Linked DNA regions of Homo sapiens: region 1 is linked to region 2. The links are contacts of gene promoters, found by promoter capture Hi-C in human tissues and cell types (Jung and others, 2019). All regions are on one chromosome and are shown on one strand. The core of a region is centred on a gene start or on the middle of the fragment in contact, and the rest is flanking DNA. Distances in the headings are between cores, read along the strand shown. Region 1 overlaps SLC26A8 (solute carrier family 26 member 8). Region 2 holds the start of STK38 (serine/threonine kinase 38).

The links. Contacts are between HindIII fragments. The study calls those that stand out against the background at their distance.
Region 1: a contact is called between a fragment that was not itself captured here and the fragment with the promoter of STK38 in region 2, in 1 of the 25 tissues and cell types used here (aorta).

Annotation. Positions count from the first base shown.
Region 1 is chr6:35,986,378-35,992,167 of GRCh38, forward strand. It overlaps SLC26A8 (solute carrier family 26 member 8), which reads right to left. Exons shown (of 20, transcript NM_052961.4): 7 at 5,282-5,431. All of the region lies in intron 6 of LOC105375035 (a long non-coding RNA gene), which reads left to right. It also overlaps the pseudogene DPRXP2. Among named protein-coding and RNA genes, the nearest start is that of SLC26A8, 35 kb to the right of the region's middle. The HindIII fragment of the contact is 6,825 bases long and covers 1-5,224 here.
Region 2 is chr6:36,545,792-36,551,985 of GRCh38, forward strand. It overlaps STK38 (serine/threonine kinase 38), which reads right to left and starts at 1,688. Exons shown (of 14, transcript NM_007271.4): 1 at 1,399-1,688. RefSeq lists an enhancer at 1,223-1,746 and silencers at 1,494-1,833, 4,947-5,147. The HindIII fragment of the contact is 5,084 bases long and covers 1-4,828 here.

The sequences.
Region 1 (5,790 bases), core at 562-3,061, 560 kb before region 2:
CAATTTTCAAGAATATGATACATTGTTACTAACTGTAGTTACTATATTGTACAAAAGATCTCTTGAAATTATTCCTCTTATCAAATTGAAATTTTGTATCCTTTGGCCAACATCTCCCCAAACCACTCTCCCGCAACTCTAGACCCTGGTAACCACCATTCTACTCTTCACTTCAATGAGTTCAACCTTTTTAGATTCCACATATCAATGAGATCATGCAGTACTTTTCTTTCTGTGCCTGGCTTATTTCACTTAACATGTCCTCTGGGTTCATCCATGTTGTCCCAAATGACAAGATTTCCTTCTTTTTATTTTTTATTTTATTTTAATTTTTTTAAACAAAATACCCAGGCTTTAAGGAGAAGGATTTCCTTTTTTTTTAAGGCTGAATAGTATTCCATTGTATATGTATACCACATTTTTTTAAAAATCATTTTTTGTTACATGTCTGTCAACTAATACCTGTATATACCACATGTATCCATTTATCTGTTGATGAACACTTGGGTTGATTCCGTATCTTAGGTCTTTTAAATAGTGCTGCAGCGAACATGAGAGTGCAGGTATCTACTCAACATATTGATTTCATTTCCTTTAGATATATACCCAATAGTGGGATTGCTGGATCTGCCTTCAGGGTTTTGTAAAATCTTTTGAAAAACAAGCCTTTCAGCTTCTGGGCTTTATGAATTAATAGCTTTTCAAACATTCAAAGGGAAAAGAATATGCACCTCTACAAGAACTAGGTAACAGTTATAAGAAAGTTTAGTCTAAAGTCCCAAGGCAGTATTTTTCAACCTTGAAGAGGATAGACCTGGATTAGTTAGTATAAGTGGGTTATGCTGTGGCAATGTACAAGCCATGAGATTGTAGCATTTTAACACATCGAAGTTATTTTTTTGCCCACACAAAGTCCATGGTGGGTTGGTATCTCTCAGGCAGCTTCTTTGCAAGCAGTGCCCCAGGGATTTGAGCTAATTTCACCTAGGGATTCCATTTCCTTTTCTTTTTTTTGAGACAGAGTCTTGCTGTCTCCCAGGCTGGAGTGCAGTGGCATGATCTCAGCTCACTGCAAGCTCCGCCTCTCGGGTTCATGCCATTCTCCTGCCTCAGCCTCCCGAGTAGCTGGGACTACAGGTGCACAACACCATGCCCAGCTAATTTTTTTGTCTTTTTAGTAGAAACAGGGTTTCACCATTTAGCCAGGATGGTCTCAATCTCCTGACCTCGTGATCCACCTGTCTCGGCCTCCCAAAGTGCTGGGATTACAGGCGTGAGCCACCGCTCCCAGTCTCCATTTTCTTAACATACTGCCCCTGTCATCATCACAGCAGGGGAGGAAAGAAGAGGGAACTTGCACCTATTCACCTCTACTTTGGCTCAAAAGTCACAGGGTCCTCCTAATTGCAAGAGAGACTGGGAGGTGCAGGGGACACATGATTATTTGGTTAACTTTAAGCATCTTTGCCACAGACCACCACTTAAAAAAGAAATAATTCTCATTGACACCCAAAAATTCAGCAACCTTTCTTTCTTTTTTTTTTTTTTTTTTTACATGGAGTCTTGCTCTGTCGTCCAGGCTGGAGGGCAGTGGCATGATCTTGGCTCACTGCGACCTCCGCCTCCCGGGTTAAGTGATTCTCCTGCCTTAGCCTCTGGAGTAGCTGGGATTACAGGCACACGCCACCATGCCCGGCTAATTTTTGTATTTTTAGTAGAGACAAGGTTTCACCATGTTGGCCAGGCTGGTCTTGAATTCCTGACCTCAGGTGGTCGGCCCACCTCGGCCTCCCAAAGTGCTGAGATTATAGGCGTGAGCCACCGTGCCCGGCCCCGAATTCAGCAATCTTAAAATGAAAAATGCTGACTTAGAAAATCTGAGCTTTATTGATGAAAATATCTTTATCATGGTAAAATGTTAATTATAACTGTAAAAGATAAATTTTATCAGCAGATTTTAGAAAAGAAACAAGAGGCCAGATGCATTGGCTCATGCCTGTAATCCTGGCACGTTGGGACACTGAGGCAGGCAGCTCACTTGAGGTCAGGAGTTTGAGGCCAGCCTGGCCAACATGGCGAAACCCCCATCTCTACTAAAAATATAAAAATCAGCTGGGCATGGTGGTGGGCACCTGTAATCCCAGCTACTCGGGAGGCTGAGGAAGGAGAATCGCTTGAATCTGGGAGGCGGAGGTTGCAGTGGGCCGAGATCATGCCACTGCACTCCAGACTGGGTGACAGAGCGAGATTCTGCCTCAAAGAAAAAAGAAAAGAAAAGAAAAGAAACAAGAAATATTATTATTAGACAGTGAGCCCTAGCTCTGCTACTTACTAATGACACAGATTAGAAAAAACATTTAACATCTCATTTGCCTCAATTTCTTTGTTATATATATTTATTTTTATTAAGGTATAATTTAGATACAATAAAGTGCACAGCTTTTAGATATACAGTTCTATACGGTTTTTTTTTTTTTTTTTGAGACGGAATCTCGCTCTGTTGCCCAGGCTGGAGTACAGTGGTGCAATCTCGGCTCACTGCAAGCTCTGCCTCCCAGGTTCATACCATTCTCCTGCCTCAGCCTCCCGAGTAGCTGGAACTATGGGCGCCTGCCACCTCGCCCGGCTAAGTTTTTGTATTTTTAGTAGAGATGGTGTTTCACCATGTTGGCCAGGATGGTCTCAATCTCCTAACCTCGTGATCCACCCACCTCGGCCTCCCAAAGTGCTGGGATTACAAGCGTGAGCCACCGCACCCGGCCAGTTCTATATGTTTTGAGGAATTTATACGCCAGGTAACTGCCACCCTAACTAACAGCTAATTAACACATGAAACATTTCCATCACCCTGATAAATTAGTTTTCTACCACTTACTATTTAATTTTTCCACATGGGCAGCCACTAATCTTTTTGTCATGACAGATTAGTTTTTCCTGCTCTAGGAATTCATGTAATGGAATTATACAGTATGTAGCCTTTTGTGTCTTTTTTCTTTCATGCTACATAATGTTTTTGAAATCCATCCATGTTGTACACACAATGTGTGTGTGTATCTCCGGGTTTGTTCCTTATTGATGAAAAGTACTCTCTTGTAGGAAATCATTACACACATTACAATATGTTACCTTTTGTGTCTAGTATCTCTCTCTACTTTGTAGAGGTGAACAGTCAAAAGAATTAGAATTGAAACATGGAGAATAAACTCAGGATTCCAAAAATGGGATAGAAGCAGAAGCAGTATGTTCTAGGATCTTGGCAGCAGTCAAAATGAAGTGTTTTGTGGACAACAAAGTCATCTGTAGGGACCTTAACATCGGAGCATAACGTGAGTCGCAACCAGGGTGCCCAGTGATCTGTATAAACTAGGACTACAAGATAGGCATCATTAGGAGATTTGGCTGGTATATCTGTATTTCTTAGGAAGGACTGGTCTTGACTCTATCCTCAGCTAATTGCTGTTGTTGAGATTGTGTTTGCTGAATAAGCTTGCATTTTGCTTTCTTGAGTTTTGTTCTGTTTTTTTTTTGTTTGTTTGTTTGTTTTCTTTTCTTTTTTTTTTTTTTTTTTTTTTTTTTTTGAGACGGAGTCTCGCTCTTTCACCCAAGCTGCAGTGCAGTGGCACTATCTCGGCTCACTGCAAGCTCTGCCTCCTGGATTCATGCCATTCTCCTGCCTCAGTCTCCTGAGTAGCTGGGATTACAGGCACATGCCACCGCACCCGGCTAGTTTTGTATTTTTATTAGAGACAGGGTTTCTCCATGTTGGTCAGGCTGGTCTCGAACTCCCGACCTCGGGTAATCTGCCTGCCTTGGCCTCCTAAAGTGCTGGGATTACAGGCATGAGCCACCGCACCTGGCCTCTGCTCTGTGGTTCTTGAGCCAAACCTGTACTGTTGGATACATGTCCATTTTTGAGGCCATTTCTTTCTGAAGGCTGAGGTTTGGGTATGGGTTCTTATTGAACAAGATGTTCAAATCTTCCAATTGTTTCTCCATGAACATCATATGTTCCCTTTGTGAATGCATCTGGTTCTAGCCATAGGAAAGGGCCGTTCATTTCCTCCTTGGTTCTTTGGCCCTTTGCCTGTTATCATTTAACATGAGATTGCTTGTGCCTCAACTCTTGGATTTTATTTTATTTTAATTTTTTAGGAAGGTCCTCTCAGTTTGACATCTTCTCATCTAGATGTGCTCCTATGTTCAAGTCCAGGGATGAGCTGCCTCAATTTCCTTATTGTAGCATAGTGAGAAGGAATGGAAGTTGAAAACAGTGTGATTTCAACTACATTAAAATAAAAATAAAACATTTATGTAGAAAAAGACGGAAATTCACCAACATTGAGGCTAGGCCTGTCATATGTTTGTCTGAGAGAAGAAAGGAGTGAATAACTGAAAATACTAAAGTATCAATAGTAGTTGACTTTGGATGGTGCAACTATAGGAATTTCTTTTCCTCAACCACTTTTTTAAACTTCCTTATGTTTTTCAAACTTAGAATGAGCCCGTATTTCTTTCATAAGGGGAAAAAAAAACCTTATCCTTGAAATCTTATGAGAACGAGGCAATAGATAAAAGTACTTGGAGAATAAGCATTGTGTGAGGGAGATCTATTGTGCTATTGTGACTATAGTTAATAATGTGTACTTGCAATTGCTAAGAGAGTAGATCTTAAATGTTCTCACAACAAAAATAATAACTGCTGCTAGGGCTGCAAGGCGAAAACAATTAAAAATGATAATTAGGCCAGGCGTGGTGGCTCACGCCTGTAATCCTAGCACTTTGGGAGGCCGAGACAGGTGGATCACCTGAGGTCAGGAGTTTGCGACCGGCCTGGCCAACATGGTGAAACCCTGTCTCTATTAAAAAAAATACAAAAATTAGCTCGCCATTGTGGCACACACCTGTAATTCCAGCTACTCAGGAGGCTGAGGCAAGAGAATTGCTTGAACCTGGGAGGCAGAGGTTGCAGTGAGCCAAGATTGCACCACTGCACTCCATCCTGGGCAGCAGAGCAAGACTCTGTCAAAAAAAAAAAAAAAAAAAACTTGATTTAAACATTTCACTATGTATATCAGAATATCACATCATAAACAATAGATTCAATTTTTAGTTGTCAACTGTAGTATTAAAATATTTTAGAAAAAGAAAACAAGCATGTTTTCACAAATATAAGCATATATTGAAAACTAAATGTATTCAGCTTTTACACAATTCAACTCAGCATTTTTTTAAAATACTAAAATTATGCAAACTATGAATTTGAGACATCAAAAACACCTACCAGAAATAATTCCATGGGAAACTCAATGGGATACTGATTGAAAGAAATTCTGATACATTTGTTGATTCGCAGAGCAACAACAACAGTTAGAAATACTAGAATGCTGGTGGAATTCGCTTTTGGGAGAGCTACACAGTAATTAATTATGTCCTGAAAGAAAATAAAATTACGGAGGCTTAGAAAGGGATGTAGTAATTGCCTAAGTCTAGAAATTGACACTGTAGATTAACCCAAAAAGAAGTCCCCAAGTAGAGTTTCTGGGTACAAAGGTCTTTATGGGTATTACTAGAACAGTGAGGGCAAGCATGGTGGGGGTGGCCAATTTTGTAAAAAGAGGGACAGTAATGCTCAATAAGAATAAGGAGAGAATACACTGTATGTTTTAGTATAATGAACAGGCCCTAGAAGTTCTGTTTATAAGCCAATAGTTATTAGTTTTCCCAAATAATATACTGTAGCTTAGCTCCTACCCTATTCTTACATTTAGGAACTACTTAGTCTTGTATATC
Region 2 (6,194 bases), core at 438-2,937:
AGGTGGCTGAGGAATTCTTCAAAGTTTTAAAAAATTAACAAAAGGAACTGATCCTCATAAAAGTCAGGTGTAAGGCCTGCAAACTCAAAAGGAAGTCAAATGAAAACCATTATGTGATTCAATCTATATGGTTATGCCTGGCTAACTGACTGACTTTACAATGGTACTCTGTGATCACTATAAACAACCCTCTCTCAACAATATGGACTTTATTTCTTTGCGACTGACAATCCATTATCTTTCATTTGGACGATTCAACATTGGAGCTAAGATTATTGCTTAAGTCGCATGTCTAATCTCTCCCACTGAACTGTAAATCCTACTAAACTGTAATCTCTACCTACACTAGAAAGCAAGCACCATGTCTTATACTTGTTTTAATATTCTTCCCCCATTTCATGCACAGTGCTATGCACTTAGCACCTTAAGAAAGATTAACTAGGAAATATACTCATTTTTGATGTCCATTCCTAGGAGTTTATGTGTGATGGGGGATAGGGCTGGGACATGAAATGGTTTGCTATAGCGTTCTCTCCTCTTAGGAGGAAGCTGGTATCTAACGTTTAGGGTGGGGAGGAGAGCCTGTTATCGAGGTGGTGGTTGTTTTATGTTTAGGGAAACCAAATATATTGCCTGGCTAATTCAGAGGCAGGGTGAGCTCAAAGGGTGGAGACACTCAGGGTCTACTTCACTCCAACCCTCCTCGGTGCATTTCAAACAGAACAAGTTTCTCTCCGAGTCTTTTAGTCGTTTCAGAATGAACTGAGAGATCTGGTCTCTCTGCCGGCCGTTCTGCCCGCTTTCTGACACAGACTTTCCTCTAAGCCCTTACCGACTTTTTCCTCTGGCTGTTGCTTTTCCACTCTCTTCTTAAGAATTTTCCCTGCCTTTTCCTGTGATTTGAAGCTTATCTGAAGCCCAGTATCCTAAGACTAACGGAGAAAGGAGCCGACTCAAAGATACCACACCCCAAGGGGGGCTTTCGACATCTCTGCCTCAGACCACAGTTCACAGACCCCAGAAGAAGGAAAAGGAGATAAAAACCGGTGATGACCGAGATCCCTGAGGGACTGACTGGTGGCAGGGAGCAGACAAAGGTGGCAACATGGAAAGGAAAGCCTGGCTCCCGCTCCAACTGCAAAAGGAGAAAGATAAAGGATGGGGTGGAAAGGCTGGGACTGGAAAAATGTGGAGAGGGCCAACAAGGGGCATCTGGAGACGGGGGAAGAAGGGGGTTAAGGAGAGGGGCGGAGAGAGGCCAAGAGGCTGAGAGGTTAGGGCTTGAAAGAGGGCGCCGGCGAGCAGGAGAAAGCCCAAGAAGGAGTCGGAGGTTGGGGAAGGAGGAGATAAAGGAAAAACCCCGGGATGGAGTGAAGACGGCGGCAGCAAGCAACTCACCAGAGCCCAGGGAGAGGCAGGGCTGGGGACGGCGGAGAGCCGCAGACGCCCCTTCGGCCAGTAGTCTCGACTTGAAGGCTGGCGAAGCCCCGGCGGCGGCAGCCAACGAGCCAAAGACGGGAGGGGACGCGTGAGGGACTCTGAGACAGGGGGCAACAGGCGGTTACGGGTGAGGACAACAGGAAGCGTTCCAACTGCCGGAAAAGACGCGAGCGCTGAGGGGCCAAGGCAGCCCGGTCCCCCGCCGCGGAGACGGGCTGGCGCGGCAGCCCGGGGCCGAGACTACGCATGCGCGACTTCCCGGAGCGGCCGGGATTGCGGAACTGCGCTTGCGTGGCCCCGCCCTGCCCCTCCCTTCACCCCCTGCCTAGGGCTGGCTGGACCTGGGTGAGGCCAGATGTGTGAGTGTGAGGCGGTCTCGAAGTAGGCTGGGCTGAGGGGGAAGTTCCATTGTTTTCTTTTGTTTTACTTTTTACTTCGAAATAATTATGGACTCACAAGAAGTTGCAAAATTAATACATACAGGTTCCCTATACCATCACCCACCCAGCTTACCTCAACATTTTTCTTAAGATACAACATTCTCAAAGCCAGGAAATTGACATTCGCACAATACAATTAACTAAACCAATACAATTAACTAAACCAATACAATTAACTTCATTACAGACCACACTCGGATTTAACCTGTTGGGTATGCAGTCATGTGCGTGTGTGTGAGTGTGTGTGTAGTTCTATGAAATGTTGTCACCTGTATAGTTCCCACCCACCCCCCTACCCCGTGTAGAACAGGTCTGCTGGAGCCCTTGGCCCCCCTCCTCTTCCTTAAAGTAAGGACCTTACCTGGGATAAGGTGAGCTCTCATAGGTTTGGGAGGTTACCCAGCGGGCGACCCAGTGTGGACAGAAGAAGGTGCTTTTCAAGGCCACCCAACTCTTATTCTGTACTACTTTTGGGGGTAAAGAGGTCCCAAGTTTAATAGCCTTTGGGCACTTGTCGTTTCTTGAGAATGGAGCACAAAGCCCTCAACTACAAAGTGTCAAGCTCCTGGAAACTAAGATGAACGAGACATGGTCCCTGACTGCCTGCAAAGGGGCCATCTAGGGAGAGAAGGAAGCATGTGCTGCGAGTTATTCATTCATTTCATCTTCAAAGCCCAGTTTCCTTTTGTCTAGCCTCTTAACAAAAATCACTTCTCGCCAGGCGCGGTGGCTCCTGCCTGTAATTCCAGCACTTTGGGAGGTCCAGGTGGGAGGATAGCTTGAGCCTAGGAGTTTGAGACCAGTCTGGGCAACATAAGGAGAATCCACCTCTAAAAAAATTTTTGTAATTGGCCAGCATGGTGGCAAGTGCCTGTGGTCCCACCTACTGTGGAGGCTGAAGCAGGAGGATTGATTGAGTCCAGGAGTTCAGGGCTGCTATGAGCCATGATCATGACACTGCACCCCAGCCTGGGCAACGGAGGGAGACCCTGTCTCAATCAGTCACTACATACATATCAATCAATCACTTCGCCTTTCATTCTCTCTGCCCAGAGGCCCTTCTCCCCAAATGCCTGTTGTCAAAGTCCTACCCATTCTTAAGCTTTTAATAATAGTCCAAGATGTCTGCATAATGCTTTACAGTTTACAAACAACTTTCACTTATTTAATCTCACTTGGTCCTCACTTTGGCAGTGACACACGAGGTTTTGCAGATGAAGTAATTGATACTTAGAGAAGCTAAGTGACTTGTCTGAATTCCCACGGCTAGTAAGCCAAGTAGCCAAGAGGGGAACCCCATTTTCTGTCTGCAAATCCAATGTTCTTTCTCCTCTTCTCTTTCCTCCTTCCAAAGCCCAGCTCAAACCTTATCTTCCTCCTGGAACTTTCCCAGTTTCAGAAGAGGAATTTCACTCTCTCTTCTCTCTTATATATATGTTTTTTTTGGTGGGGGGAGGGGGGTTGTTTTTGTTTTGTTTTGAGACGGAGTGTCGCTCTATCACTAGGCTGGAGTGTAGTGGCACGATCTCGGCTCACTGCAACCTCCACCTCCCAGGCTCAAGTGATTCTCCTGCCTCAGCCTCCTTAGTAGCTGGGACTACAGGACTACAGGCACGTGCCACCATGCCCAGCTAATCTTTTCTTCTTCTTCTTCTTCCTCTTCTTCTTCTTCTTCTTCTTCTTCTTCTTCTTCTTCTTCTTCTTCTTCTCCTTCTCCTTCTCCTTCTCCTTCTTCTTTTTTTTTTTTGAGACGGAGTCTTGCTCTGTTGCCCAGGCTGAAGTGCAGTGGCGCGATCTCTGCTCACTGCACGCTCCGCCTCCCGGGTTCACACCATTCTCCTGCCTCAGCCTCCCGAGTAGCTGGGACTACAGGCGCCCGCCACCAAGCCCGGCTAATTTTTTGTATTTTTAGTAGAGACGGGGTTTCACCATGTTAGCCAGGATGGTCTCGATCTCCTGACTTTGTGATCTGCCCGCCTCGGCCTCCCAAAGTGCTGGGATTACCGGCGTGAGCCACCGCGCCCGGCCTTTTTTTTTTGTATTTTTACTAGAGATGGGGTTTCACCATGTTGGCCAGGATGCTGTCTATCTCTTGACCTCGTGATCTGCCCACCTCCGCCTCCCAAAGTGCTGGGATTACAGGCGTGAGCCACCGCACCCGGCCCTTTCCTCCTATATTAATTTATCTGTACCACAACTCAAATAAGCACTAAAGTTTTCCTCAAAACAGCCCAGCCAAATTATGCTGCTCTTTCTGCAGGAACCCAAAAGGTGACATTTTACCAAGATTCCAATAACTATAATGGACGTTTGTCATTCTTTTTGGCCACTTGAGCATCTGAATCCCTTTCCTATCACCAAAACTGAAATCACTTATACCCATCCCAGACTGTGAGTTGGAAATTAGAAAGATCTGACCTGCATAATTTTGATGTTGTCACATCCCCGTGTTTGTTTGTTTGTTTGTTTGTTTTTTGAGACGGGGTCACCCAGGCTGGGGTCACCCAGGCTGGAGAGCAGCGGCACAATCATAGCTCACTGCAGCCTCGAACTCCTGGGCTCAAGCAATCCTCCTACCTCAGCCTTGTGAGTAGCTGGGAACAAAGGTGCGTACGACCTTGATCGGCTAGTTTTTTGTAGAGTCAGGCCTCACTATGTTGCCCAGGCTGGTCTCAAACTCCTGTTCTCAGGTGATCCTCCTACCTCAGCCTCCCAATGTGCTGGGATTACAGGCATGAACCACCTTACACAGTGAGTCGAGCTTTATTTTAAATTTCGATGTTTTATTCATCGTGGATTTTTTGCATTAATTTTGATTTTTGAAAAACCTTGCATTAAAATGGTCTTTATCTTGATTACTGAGTTTTTTGTGCCCAAGGTGAGTGTCTTGCTCACTTGCTCAACTCACCCGTTCTTTGTTCCAAGGGAATCACCTGCCTCTCCTTTATCAAGCTGACCTATGATTGCTTCACCAGCCAAAACTGAGCCACTTGGAAAGAACCACAACTCTTTTTAAAAACAGGCATCTTACCCCTTAGCAGTGTGTGCCCCACCTATTGGGGCAGTGGCATCAATTGCCTCTGAATATTCCTTTCATAAGAAGACAGGAACTATGCTTGGGTGCCTGCTAGCCCAGTGCTTCTCAAACTGTAACATGCACATAAATCTCCTGGGATTTGGTTAAAGAGCAGATCTGGCTAAAGTCTGGGGCAGAGCTGAGATACTGCATTTCAAACAAGCCCCCAGATGATGCTATCACTGCTGGTCCATGTACTACACTTAGAGTAGCAAGGAACTTGAACATATATCCAAGTAAAAAGTAAGAAGGAGAAAGTGCCCATAATCCAGCAGCCGTAGGTCCCAACCAAGGCCAAGACTAGGGTGAAGCATGTGAGGGCATAACATTTAAGAAGACACTCACTTTCAGGTTCTACTCCTGCATTTGCAGAACCCTGAGAGTGAAGGCAGCCTTACATTGAGTGTCCTAGGAACCTTGCTTGCCTTAGCCTGGTCCCACCCTGGTAACATAACCACCAAGTAATATTTTGGTGGGTATTCCTCCAGACTATCTTTTTTTTTTTCTTTCTGAGACAGGGTCTCGCTCTGTCACCTAGGCTATAGTGCAGTGGTGCGATAACAGCTCACTGCAGCCTTGACCTCCTGAGCTCAAGCAATCTGCCTGCCTCAGCTTCCCAAAGTGCTGGGATTACAGGTGTGAGCCACTGCACCTGGCCTTGAGACTAGTGTGCATGAGTGTGTGTGTTTTGTTTTGTTTTGTTTTGTTTTTGAGACGGAATCTCGCTCTGTCACCCAGGCTGGAGTGCACTGATGTGATCTTGGGTCACTGCAACCTCCACCTCCCGGCTTCAAGAGATTCTCCTACCTCAGCCTCCCGAGTAGCTGGGATTACAGGCGTGCACCACTATGCTTGGCTAATTTTTGCAGTTTTAGTAGAGAGGGGATTTCGCCATATTGGCCAGGCTGGTTTCAAACTCCTGACCTCAAATGATCCACCCGCCTCAGCCTCCCAAAGTGCTGGGATTACAGGCGTGAGCCACCGTGCCCGGCCGTGTGTGTGTATTTTAAAAGAGTCTCACTGGGTTGCCCAGGCTGGAGTGCAGTGACACAGTCATGGCTCACTGCAGGCTCAACCTCCCAGGCTCAAGTGATCCTCCTGCCTCAGCTTTCCAAGTAGCTGGTCTACAGACATGCACTGCCGCACCTGGCTAATTTTTAAATTTTTTGAAGAGATGGGGTCTCCCTATGATGCCCATGCTAGGCTCCTGGATTCAAGTAATCCTCCCACCTTGGCCT